Linked DNA regions of Homo sapiens: region 1 is linked to region 2. The links are contacts of gene promoters, found by promoter capture Hi-C in human tissues and cell types (Jung and others, 2019). All regions are on one chromosome and are shown on one strand. Each heading gives the region's core, a stretch centred on a gene start or on the middle of the fragment in contact. The rest is flanking DNA. Distances are from core to core; before and after follow the strand shown. Region 1 has its middle 32 kb from the start of MIR483. Region 2 holds the start of SYT8 (synaptotagmin 8).

The links. Contacts are between HindIII fragments. The study calls those that stand out against the background at their distance.
Region 1: a fragment that was not itself captured here is called in contact with the fragment with the promoter of SYT8 in region 2 in 2 of the 25 tissues and cell types used here (H1 embryonic stem cells and lymphoblastoid cells).

What each region holds. Positions count from the first base shown.
Region 1 is chr11:2,099,172-2,106,146 of GRCh38, reverse strand. No RefSeq gene overlaps it. Among named protein-coding and RNA genes, the nearest start is that of MIR483, 32 kb to the left of the region's middle. RefSeq lists enhancers at 5,032-5,673, 5,674-6,316. The HindIII fragment of the contact is 7,700 bases long and covers 1-6,177 here.
Region 2 is chr11:1,832,652-1,836,239 of GRCh38, reverse strand. It overlaps SYT8 (synaptotagmin 8), which reads right to left and starts at 1,250. Exons shown (of 8, transcript NM_001394072.1): 1 at 1,041-1,250; 2 at 781-944; 3 at 256-354; 4 at 1-114. The coding sequence starts at 1,134. RefSeq lists enhancers at 2,060-2,673, 2,674-3,289 and silencers at 3,392-3,451, 3,512-3,588. The HindIII fragment of the contact is 28,273 bases long and covers 1-3,588 here.

The DNA.
Region 1 (6,975 bases), core at 1,078-3,577, 270 kb before region 2:
GGGATCCTGTGGCTGCTGAGTGACCAGAGTGCAAGAGGAGAAGTGGAGGCACCTGCTGGGATACACACAGAAGGGAGTGACTGGGAGGGACTGGTGGAGGAGTGAGGGTGGTTGCACCCTGGTGTGTGCTGAGGGCAGAGTGAGAGCCTTTGCTGAGGGCCTAGAGGAGTGAAGAGCCCAGAAGGCCCCTGGGAAGGATGGCATCACCTGACAGAGAAGAGGAGAGGCAGAAAGGTACATTTGGAGTTTCAGGGCTAGGCGGTCATGTCCACAGAGGCCGGGGACATCCGTGAGAGGGGAATAATGGACAGACAGCACCTGCCAGGTCATGTTGCCAAGAGGCCCCTGGCCAGGAGCTCAGACCAGCCTGGGCAAGTGGTCAGGTCCTGGCTGCTGGCTGTGGCCTTCGTCCTGCTGGCCTCTCAGATGTCACAGGGAGCTCTCGGAGCCTCTTGAGCTGTCCCCCAATGGGCTGCTACCTGGCTCCGAGGCCTGGTCCCAGCCCCACAGCCCCAACTTGGTGTTCCTTCAGGGCAGAGACAGATGGGACAGGGGTCAGTGAGGGGAGGAGAGTTCTCAGGAGGCGGTGCTTGGGCTGGGCCTGGGGAGGGAAGCTCCAGGGTGCTCCTGGGGCAGCAGGGTGAACCAGCTCTGACGTTTTCTGTATTAAGGAGCATCTGAGAAGGGAGAGAACAAACGCTTCGCTTTTCCACATCAGGCACAACATGATCGGTCATCCGTTTTCATTCCGGGATCTGGAAAACAGCTGATTCTGGAAAGCTACAACTTCCCTAGGTGCAGAGCTCTGTGGAGAAGGGCTCCCGCAGGGCTGGGGGTGGGAGCTCAGGCCCCAGGCACTCCAGAGCTGGCTCAGGAAAGGGTAAGGCTCAGACTGGGCCTGGAGGGAAGAGCCCACCAAGGAGGAACCAGTCTCCACCCCCTGCCTCTGGCCAGGTTTCTATAGCACTGGTGACCAGGACACTCGAGCCTCTGGGACCTCAGTGGGCTAATCCGGGACTAATCCTAGCAACAGGCTGGGCCTGCAGCCACATGATGGCCGAGGGTTGCTGAGCATGCACCCATGACCCTTCCCAGGGGCCTGGCCACAGTGCCTGGTTTCCCTCTGTGCCCTGGCATTGAGTGGAGTTGGCTCCAGGAGCAAGGCCCCCTGGGCCTTTGGTCCCTTTCCTGGGCCCAGCTCTGGGCCACTGGGGTCCCCATGGCTGCCCTCACCTGGGGGTTGGCAGGATCAGCGGAAATTAACAGGTGAGGGAGGCCTCATGCATGAAGCACGGCTTCCTGCTGGGAGCGGTGGAAACCTGGGGATTTCGGGGCGGGCTCAGGGATCCTGATACACTCACTTGGGGCCCTGGGCTGGGGCAAGGCAACATGGTGAGTCTTCTGGGCCACTGGAACCGTGAGGAAGGACAAAGCTCTGGAGGCCTTGACCAAGGAGGCCTGCTGCGCGTGTGTGTATATGAATGTGTGTTTGCATGTGTGGGCGTGCGTGTGTATATGAATGTGTGTTTGCATGTGTGGGCATGTGTGTATATGAATGTGTGTTTGTGTGTGTGGGCGTGTGTGTATATGAATGTGTGTTTGCATGTGTGGGCATGTGTGTGTATGCATGTGTGTCTGTGCGTGCATGTGTGTACCCCTGTGTGTGTGTGTGCGCACTCCGGCACGGGAGGGGGTTGTGCCCCTGCCTCCGCGCCCCAGAAGCTCTGGTTCCATCTGTGTTCTTGCTTTTCATCAGTCAGCCATCATTTGTTAATTCATTCATTCACCCATCATTCATTCAGCAATGGTCAGGAGGAGCCAGGAAGCACCCTTGTCCGTGCTGACCCAGGCTGTGGGTCTGTTGTGTTGGCCTCAGCAGTGTCTGGGCATCAGCAGGTGAAAGGGTGCCTGAGTGTCAGTGTGGGAGCGGCCTCCACTGAGAACCACAGCTCCCCGGGAGTACCCTGAGCGGCAGCGCTCTGTTCCCTGCTCTGCCATCTCCTGGACCCATGCCCTTCCTAGCTGCTGGATCAGCCTCTGCCCAGGTTGGGCTGCAGGTGCTGGGTCCAGGCCTCCCCGGGGTGCCCCTCGTCAGGGGTTGCAGGCAGCCCCTGCGACCATGGCTGGAGCTGGGCTGACCCGGGCTCAAACTCCTGACTCTTGTGCCACTTACTGTGTGTCTGCGGGAAAGCCACTTAATGGAGACTCATCCTCAGTCTCCTTGTCTGGAACAGCGACAGTCCTGACTCCTTCAGGGTTTCGAAGGTGATGCTTGTGGAACACGCTACTGGCACCTGGCCATGGAGGGCGTGAGGGACGGCCACTGTCACTACCCAGATTTTCCCTGGGCCAGCAGTGTGGGAGCAGATGGGATTTGGAGTGGAGCACGCACAGGACGGCCCTCGTTCATTTTGAGTCCACACAGGCCTGTGTCCCCAGTTCCCGGCCCTGCCCCTGCTCTGTACTGCAGCACCCCTACCCTCAGAAGAGACCCCTTATTTCCATGTGGAAAGCGCTCTTTGGGCTCTAAGTGGCTTCCCAGGAGGGCAGAGCCCCTGGAGCCATCTCTGGGTTTCCAGGAAGCCCACTGGGAGGGTGGTGGATGGTGTCTCCAGGGCCGTGGAACACTCTGGCTACCCTTAGCACGAGAGGGGGAGATTCTCTGGTTTTCAGCTTGTCCTTCTGTTCCAGGGACAGCTCTGTGGGAGAGGCTCTCTCCTGCCAATGCAGGAGACAGAGCTGGAGCAGAGGAGAGCCCCTGCTTAGGCCTAAGAGCCCCAGCTTGGTCACTGAAACTGGGAGCCACGGTTGGGTTGGAAAGTCTGGTCCTCCGTGCCCTGGCAAGGGCAGACTTGGTTTTCCTTCCTACTCTACTCTTCCAGTCTCCTCCTCTGCCAGACTGGCCATGGTGGGTCAGAGAGAGGGGCAAGGAAAGGGAAGTGGGGGGACAGAGCAGGATGACCATAAGGAAGAGGACACAGGAGAGAGAAGGGGATGCAGGGCCTTCCAACTATGGACTTGAAGAAGAAAGACGAAAACAAGAAACCAAAGTCATGTCTTGGCCAACAAACCCCCAGCTCCTATCTCCCTACAGAAAGAAGCTTGGGGGAAACTGGCTCCAGGAGCCTTGGCTGCAGGGAAGGCAGCATTTCCACGACTGAGCCTTTTGCAAACTATGTGGGTCCTGCTCTTTTTGGCCCTCCTGCTCCAGCCCCCAGCTCCCTGCATCCAGCTCTGAGGGCCCCAGAGCCCCATCAGATGTGGAGGGAGCTTGGGTGGAGCAGGGTGGAGGTGCGGCAAAGATCAGGCCAGGCCTCATTGTTTAGAAAAGAAGGAACTGACTTCAGCTCCGGGAGCAGGGCCTCCCACCCCACCCGGACTTCCTGCTCCCTGGGCCTGCCAGTGCGGACTTTGTCCACCTTATTTGGGGATTGAGAAGCCACACTGCTCTATGGCCCTGGGGGTCATGGCAGAGAACCAGAGACTCACAGAGTGGAGGGTGCCTGGCAATCATTCTCCATGATTCAAGGTTACAACACCTTAGCCAAAGAAAGTGCTATTTGAGGATCCATTCATTCCTCCATCCAACTGTTCATCCACCCTTCCATCTACCCACCTGCTCTTCATTCATCCACCTACTTATTCATACGTCTACATTCATCCTCATGTCTCCACATCCCCCACTCACCCATCCATTCATCCTTTCCTCTACCCACTCATCCTTTCATCCGTCCATCCATCCATCCATCCTAATCATCCATCCATCTCAACCATCCATTCATCCATTCACACACCACCTTCCCATCCACTCATCCACCCATCCATCCCACACATCCTTCCACTCACCTACATATTCACTCATCCATCCATCCATCCATTCCAACCTCCATCCATTCACCCACCTACCCATCCATCGATCATCCATCCATCCATCCATTTATCCATCCATCCATCCATCCATCCATCCGCTCACCCATCCATCCATCAATTCACCCACCCATCTATCCACCCACCTATCTACCACCCTTTCCACCACAATTCTATATCATCCAGGTTTGATAATTGGAAGCCCATTGCTAAGAAAACTTCTTGAACAAGTTCTTTGGCTAAGAAACAAGAGGCTGCCTCAATTTACCCACTGCATCTGTGTCTTATGGATTTGAAGTCATCATAAGTCACATCTAAGACCAGGACCAGGACCTGAGACTGTCCTTTCAGGACCTTTTATTTTCCACAATGACAGTGACAGACACACACAGGGAGCACTAAGGCTGGGGTCCCAGTGGACGTCAGTGTGGGGAAGAGTCTCTCCTGGCTCTGTGTGGCCTTTGAAAGACACCTCATTCCTTTGGTCTAGGCTTCTCTGTAAAATGGGCTGCCAAGATGGTTGTGCGGGTCGATGGAGAGAAGTAATCTGCCTGTCTTTGAATCATTGCCTCCAGGTGAAGGTCTCCCCTCTTTCTAACTCTAATCTAAAAACCCATGAGGTTGAAATCCTCAAGCCCCAAGCGACACCTGTGAAACGGCCCAAGAGAAGCGTGCCATGAGGCAGCAGGAAGGGCATTCCAGGAGGAGGGAACAGAGGTGAGAGAGACGCCCTGACATTTGGGGACCCAGCAGGGAGTTTGGCCTGGCTGTCACTGGAATGGCAGCACAGGTGGCTGGAGAGGAAAGAGGGGCCAGGCTGAAGGATCAGATGCCCCTGGGAACACACAGGAGCTGTGGGGTGGGCCAGGTGGGGTTCCTGAGGGAGGGGCACAGGTGGGCCAGCTGGCCGAGAAGAAGCTTCCTCTGCAGGGTGGCGAGTAGAAAGGGGAGTGAGCCCCACCTGCATGGCTGCCGAGGGGTCCAGTGAGGGAAGGTGGTGAGTCCAGGGACCCAGCTTCAAGTGCCACACGGGTCCCGCTTGGCCATGCTGGATGGGAAGGGTTCTCCTCTGGTACACTGTGTCTGGAGGCCCCGGGTCTTCCTCCCTTGGCCTGGCAGGGTGGTCCCTCCCGCTGCTCGGCTCTGTACTAGGCTTGATCCCCTGTCTTGGGTACAGTCCTGCCCCAACCTCCCCAGGCATCCAGTCCCTCCTGTCCTGCCCCATGGAGTCTGCAAACCCAATGCCCTTGGCTTCTCCCTGCCTCCAGCTTCCGTCCTTCAGCCCGTGCCAGGGGCCTGCCCGGGAGGTCTCTTGTCACCAGTCCCCAGTGCCAGTCTCCCACTCAGCAACTGTGGGGCACCTGGAAGGACCTGTGAAATAAACCCCTGAACCCTGGCCCAAAGCCACTGCCCCCCAAAACCTGGACTCAGGGAGCTCAGCAGAGCATGCAGGACTGCAACCGGCCTGGGCTGTCCACTTGTCCTGCGGGCTTTGGGCTGGGGAAGGGCAGACGGAGGGGCAGGGCCAGGCCAGCCTAGGAGGCCCCGGGGTGCAGAGTGGGGCCTGGTTGCATCAGGGAACCCAGGGGCTCTGGTCCCCTGGGCCCAGCAAGCTTGAGATGGGCCTGGGCACCTCCCTCTCTGCACTGGGCGGGCTTCCTGCCTGGCCCCGGGAAGTGGCCCCCCTGCACCTCCCGCAGACAGGTGACGTCAGCGTCTGAGATAACAAGGCGGCCCTGCCGGCGTCTGCCCCAGCGTATGCCCACTGTAATCTGGGCTGTCTGGGCACAGGGGCCACCTTGGCTCGGTGAAAAGCTACCCTCGCAGTGAGCTCCGGTGGGGCTGAGGAAAACACGTCTGCAGGCCTAGGCGGGGCAGGCCCCAGGGGCGGCTCTGCCTTGCGCCCCCTAAGATCTGTGCCAGAACTGAGCTGTTCTTACTGGGGCACACAGGACCTGAAGCCCAGCAGGGTGTGCAGTCAGTAGGTGCCCAATAAATGTGTGGATGAGCCAAGGAACCCTGCACGAATTAGTGAGGCTGAAAAGCAGATGATTTAGAGGCAAGAGAGGCCGGAGGAGCCTGGGCTTCTCCAAAGAGGAGGACAGGATGCAGGGCCCCTGGCACACACAGCCCAGCCCCCACTCTGCCCCGCCCCCACCCAGGCCAGCCTCAGGCAGCCTGTCCTCCAGGCCCTGCTACCACTGTGGCCTGTCCTGTGGTCTGACTTGGCCTGGCAAGGGCACTCGGGCGCAGGGCCAAGAGTGTGGGGCCTGCCTTCCTTGTAGCCCACTCCAGTCTCCTCCGCTGGCCGGGGAGGGCAGGGGAGCAGCTGCTGGAGCTGCGGCTGAGAGCGGGTGACGGGTACTGTTGTCAGGCAAGGCGGGGGTGCGGCTCCCGCTTGGCATCCTCCACCAGGGCTGCAGTGAGAGGCGTGGCCAGCAGGTGAGCAGGCAGAGGAGTGTGTGGGTGCACCCAGCCCAGCAGCCTGGCCACGAGGGCCCCCTGGCACCCAGGCGCTGCTCTTCATCAGAGTCTGCCCTGTGCCAGCTGGCAGGGCCAGCATAGGGATGTTTCACTTACGTACACTTCACAAGGGAAGCGGCAGGCTGAGGAGCTGTCTGCTGAGGGCCAAGACCTGGGGACACGCCACAAGTGGGGACAGCAGTTCCTGAGGATCCCAATGAGCCCTGGTGGGAGGGGGCCATGGGGAGGGTCCCAGGGAGCAGGTGCTGGGCACTGTAGCGTGTCTGGGCCAGCTTTGACCCTCAGGAGGGTGGGCTGGGGTCAGCCAAGCCGCTTCTTAGAACCTGGGGATATCAAAAAGAGCAGAGCTGGCCTGCTGTGCCCAGCACCAGCCAGGACAGGAGACAGCAGGGGAGGGGCACCGGCATATCACCTACTCAGGGCTGCAGGAGCTGGGTGGGGGCAGGCAGCAGGCACCAGGAAAGAAGGGGGAGTGATAAGGGATGTGGGCTGAGACTGGTGGGAGTTCTGGGTTCAGGATAAGCTTGGCCACAGCCTCGAGGAGAGAGGAGGAAGTCCCCACCCCAGCTGGACCCGCATTTCTGGCCATGTTCAGACGCCCTGCGGTCCGGTCTCCACTCCAGG
Region 2 (3,588 bases), core at 1-2,500:
GTGCACTTTTGTCTCATGTCTGTGTCCGGCCTGGGTGGAGACGCTGACCCGGGCATAGGGGTCCACGGTGCCCCCAGGCCTCAGGTCGGCTGCCTGCCTCAGGCCCACCCTGATCTGGGAGCCAGCGGGGTGGGCTCAGCCAAGGGCCCCTGCCCTGTCAGCTCCCCACCACCCAGGGCATGGGGTCTGCCCTTCCCCCGTCACCCTTTCCGGAAACTCGCAGAACCGCTGGTCCTGCGCAGCGGGGCCCTTCACCTCCTGGCTTCCAAAGTCGAACTCCAGGGAGAGCTGCAGGCACCCCCATTGCTGAGCATCCCCCGGGCTGGACTCCAGGCCATCCACATCAGGTTGCACCTGGAGTGAGTTGGGACAAGGGGCAGGTGGTGCTGACATCATGCCTCATCAGAGCCCTGGGCTCCCGGGCAGCCCTTGCATGACATGGGTCAAGACCCCCCGCCTCCAGGCCAGGCCACCCAACAGGCACAAATCGTCGGCTTCGCTCTGTGAGACCGGCCAAACCCACCCAAAACGTGGCATCTGGGGTACCCCCTGCCTTCCTCAAGAACCCGCTGTGGCTCCCTCGGGCCCATGGGGCAGCCCCTGTTGCATGGCCTCCTTCTCACCTCTGTTCACCCACTTTCCCTGCCAGGAAGGTCCTCAACGCCCTGCCTCTGTGGGGGTTAAACCATCCCTGGGGCTGAACTCGCCTCGCTGCCCTGGGCTCTGGAGCCTGGATTTCAAGCCCTCTCTGGACTGAGTGAGCAAGGAGCCGCTCCTCACCAGGTGGGTGGTGGTGGTGCCGCGGGCACTGCCCAGACCCACGGACTCCTTGTCCCTGGGCTTCTTCCTGTGGCGGCGGCAGCAGCAGCAGGCAGCACAGAGGAGGCAGGAGACGAGGAGGACGCCCGCGGCAAGGGCGCCGGCAATGAGAGCCCAGCGGGGCCCTGGGGTAGAGGCCAGGCTGAGTGCATCTGTGGACAGCTGCAGCCCCCACTTGGCTGGGTTATCCCCACACCCCTCTTGGGAATCCCACAACTCACAGGGGGTCCCGGCGACAAGGTCTGGAATAAGCCCAGGTATAGCTGTGGTGCCAGCTGGGGCCGGGGCACTGGGAGAGACTGGTGGGTGCCCCATCTTTCTACCCTGCTGGTTTGGAAGAAGCGGCCCAGGAGGCTGGGTCAGCTGGGAGGGTGGCCCCTCCGGCCCCTGCCCGCTACCCCATCTGACTAGCAGCAGCCAGTGCTGGGTCTGCCAGGGCAAGGAGGCAGCACGGGGTGGCCAGGGGCGAGGGTTCTGTGCAGCAGGAAGCTGAAGGGAGGGAGGCTCTGGACCCTGGCCAAAGCTCCAGCTTAGCTGCCCAGGCCCAGCCTCCCAGCCACCTCCCAGCAGCCCCCAGCCCCAGCCAAGCAGGCAGGGCCTGGGCAGCCTAGTCCCTGCCTTCACCGGACCTCAGAGCACCCTTGCCCCCACTGTAGGATGCGTCCTCCACCAGGAAGCTCTCTCCCTCCCTGCTTCTCTCTCCTGGGCCCTGGACCCTGGGCCCTGCCTGGGGGTCCCATCTCATCCCTGGGGGTCTCATCTCTGCGGTCCCATCACTTCCTTGCCTCTACCCCAGCACGCACCACAGCTGGGGCCCACCATGGTTTGCCAGCCATGCAGGTGGAGCATGTTCACTGCAGCCCCCAGGAACTTGGAAGCCCAGAGGGGTCTGCAGGGTCATGGCGGGAGGAGCAGGGCTGGCTGTCGGCGGAGCTCACTGAGCAGGCCTGGGCTAAAGGTGCATTCCTGGCAGGGGCTCAGGGCCGCAGCGCCTGAGGATGAAGGTGAGGTGGTGGCAGGTAGGGGCAGGGTGCAGCTGGGAGCGGCCAGAACATTCCACACACACTGACTCAGCCGCTGCCTGGACTCGTCCACCTGCCTGCCTGGCCACCCTTCGGCATGTGGGTGGGAAGGAAGGTGGGGCGGGCGCAGCTGCTGGCCCCTGTACCCGCCTGCCTAGGGCCTGGGGAGGGAGCACACCTGGCTGGGCTGGCTCCTGTCACCTACAGGCAGGGGAACCAGGGTGCTACATGGGGCCTACGGTGACCCCAGGCCCAGGGTGACTCCCCAGCTCAGCTCTTCCCTGACTCCACCCGCTCCAGAGAGCAGCAGCCAGCCAGGAGACTCTGTTCCTCCACATTGGCGCCTCCCCTGCTTTGCCCACAAGAGCCTGGGACCCCTCTTGCCATGTCCAAGTCAGCCTGGCCTCAGGGGCCCAGCCCAGGCCATCCCATCGGGAATAAGCAGCTGTTGAGGCCAGATACCCTCACCTCTGCAGCCCCCCAGTCTGGGGCAGAGCAAGGAGACAGACAGAAAGGGACCCTGCCATGACTCCAGACACACACACACACACACACACACACACACACACACACACACACACACGCACGCGCACACAGCATCAATGCCCCACTCCCTGGCAGGCTGGGAGAGGCAGCTGCACTCCCAGAACGGACCCAAACCCCCAGTGTTCAGATGAGGGGGCTGCAGCTCAAGGAGGGGAGGGAGGGTCCAGGTTCCAGCCCCACACGCATGTTGACCCTGTGAGGTCAGCAGGCCAGGTGTTTTACAGACGAGTGGACCGAGGCTGGGAGCTCTAGTTTTGTGGCTCTGGAGGCCAGCATGGCCTGGGAAGCCCAGCCTGTCCCCAGAACACAGGGGCCAGCACAATGGAGGGATTATAGGTACAAAAAGGAGATGCGGAGGTCAGGGCCAGCTTTCCAGGCTGCACCCTGTGCGCAGGGCCCCATGCTCAGAGGGGTCCCTGCTTGGTTTAATGCGTGCTGGGGCCATCTTGAAATTCTTAATTTTGGAACAAGATGCTGCACATTTTCATTCTGCACTGGGCCTCACAAATGACGGAGCTTGTCGAGTTCGGGGGACCCTTTGGGTGAGTCCCCTGCAGATGCAGTGTGGGTGTGCAGTGAAGCTCACGGGCCTCGGCAGCCCCTCAGCTCCTGGGGGACACTCCCAGGTGGGTCCGGCGTCCCACACGTGGCTGGCGGAGCGCTCCTACTGGTGGTGGCTGATGGAATGGGCTGGGTCCGCAGGGTCCCTGGAGCGGGACTGTGCCGGCCAGATTCAAACAGGCCACTGCCTCCTCCCTACGTGGAGTTTCAAGGCAACTTCTCTTTTTGAAATGTCAGAGCCTGTATACATGCTGAGATTAAAGTAGCTTCACTCCAGATTTTTATGGTTGAGATTCCGGATAAGTTGCCAATACAGAATCTCCATCTGTGAGTGCGGGCATGTGTGCGTGTGCGTGTGCGTGCGCCCCTCCCCTGTGCCCCCGCTTTGCTGGCGTCCCCCCTCCTTTAGTCTAAGAACAGTCAGGGCCGGGCGGGGAGAGCTCCCCTGCAGTGATTTGCCGCGGCCGGCCAGCGGCACTCCCGGGCCAGCCTGGTGACCTTGTCCCCAGAGGAGCACAGGGGCCACCCAGAAGCTGCTCCGGAGAACCCCAGGACCCTGGGGGCGCTGGCTGCCGATGCTGGGGGTCCCAAAGCCTGGGGAGGTGCGGGGTCCCTCCGGACCGCCGGGACCCCAGGGAGG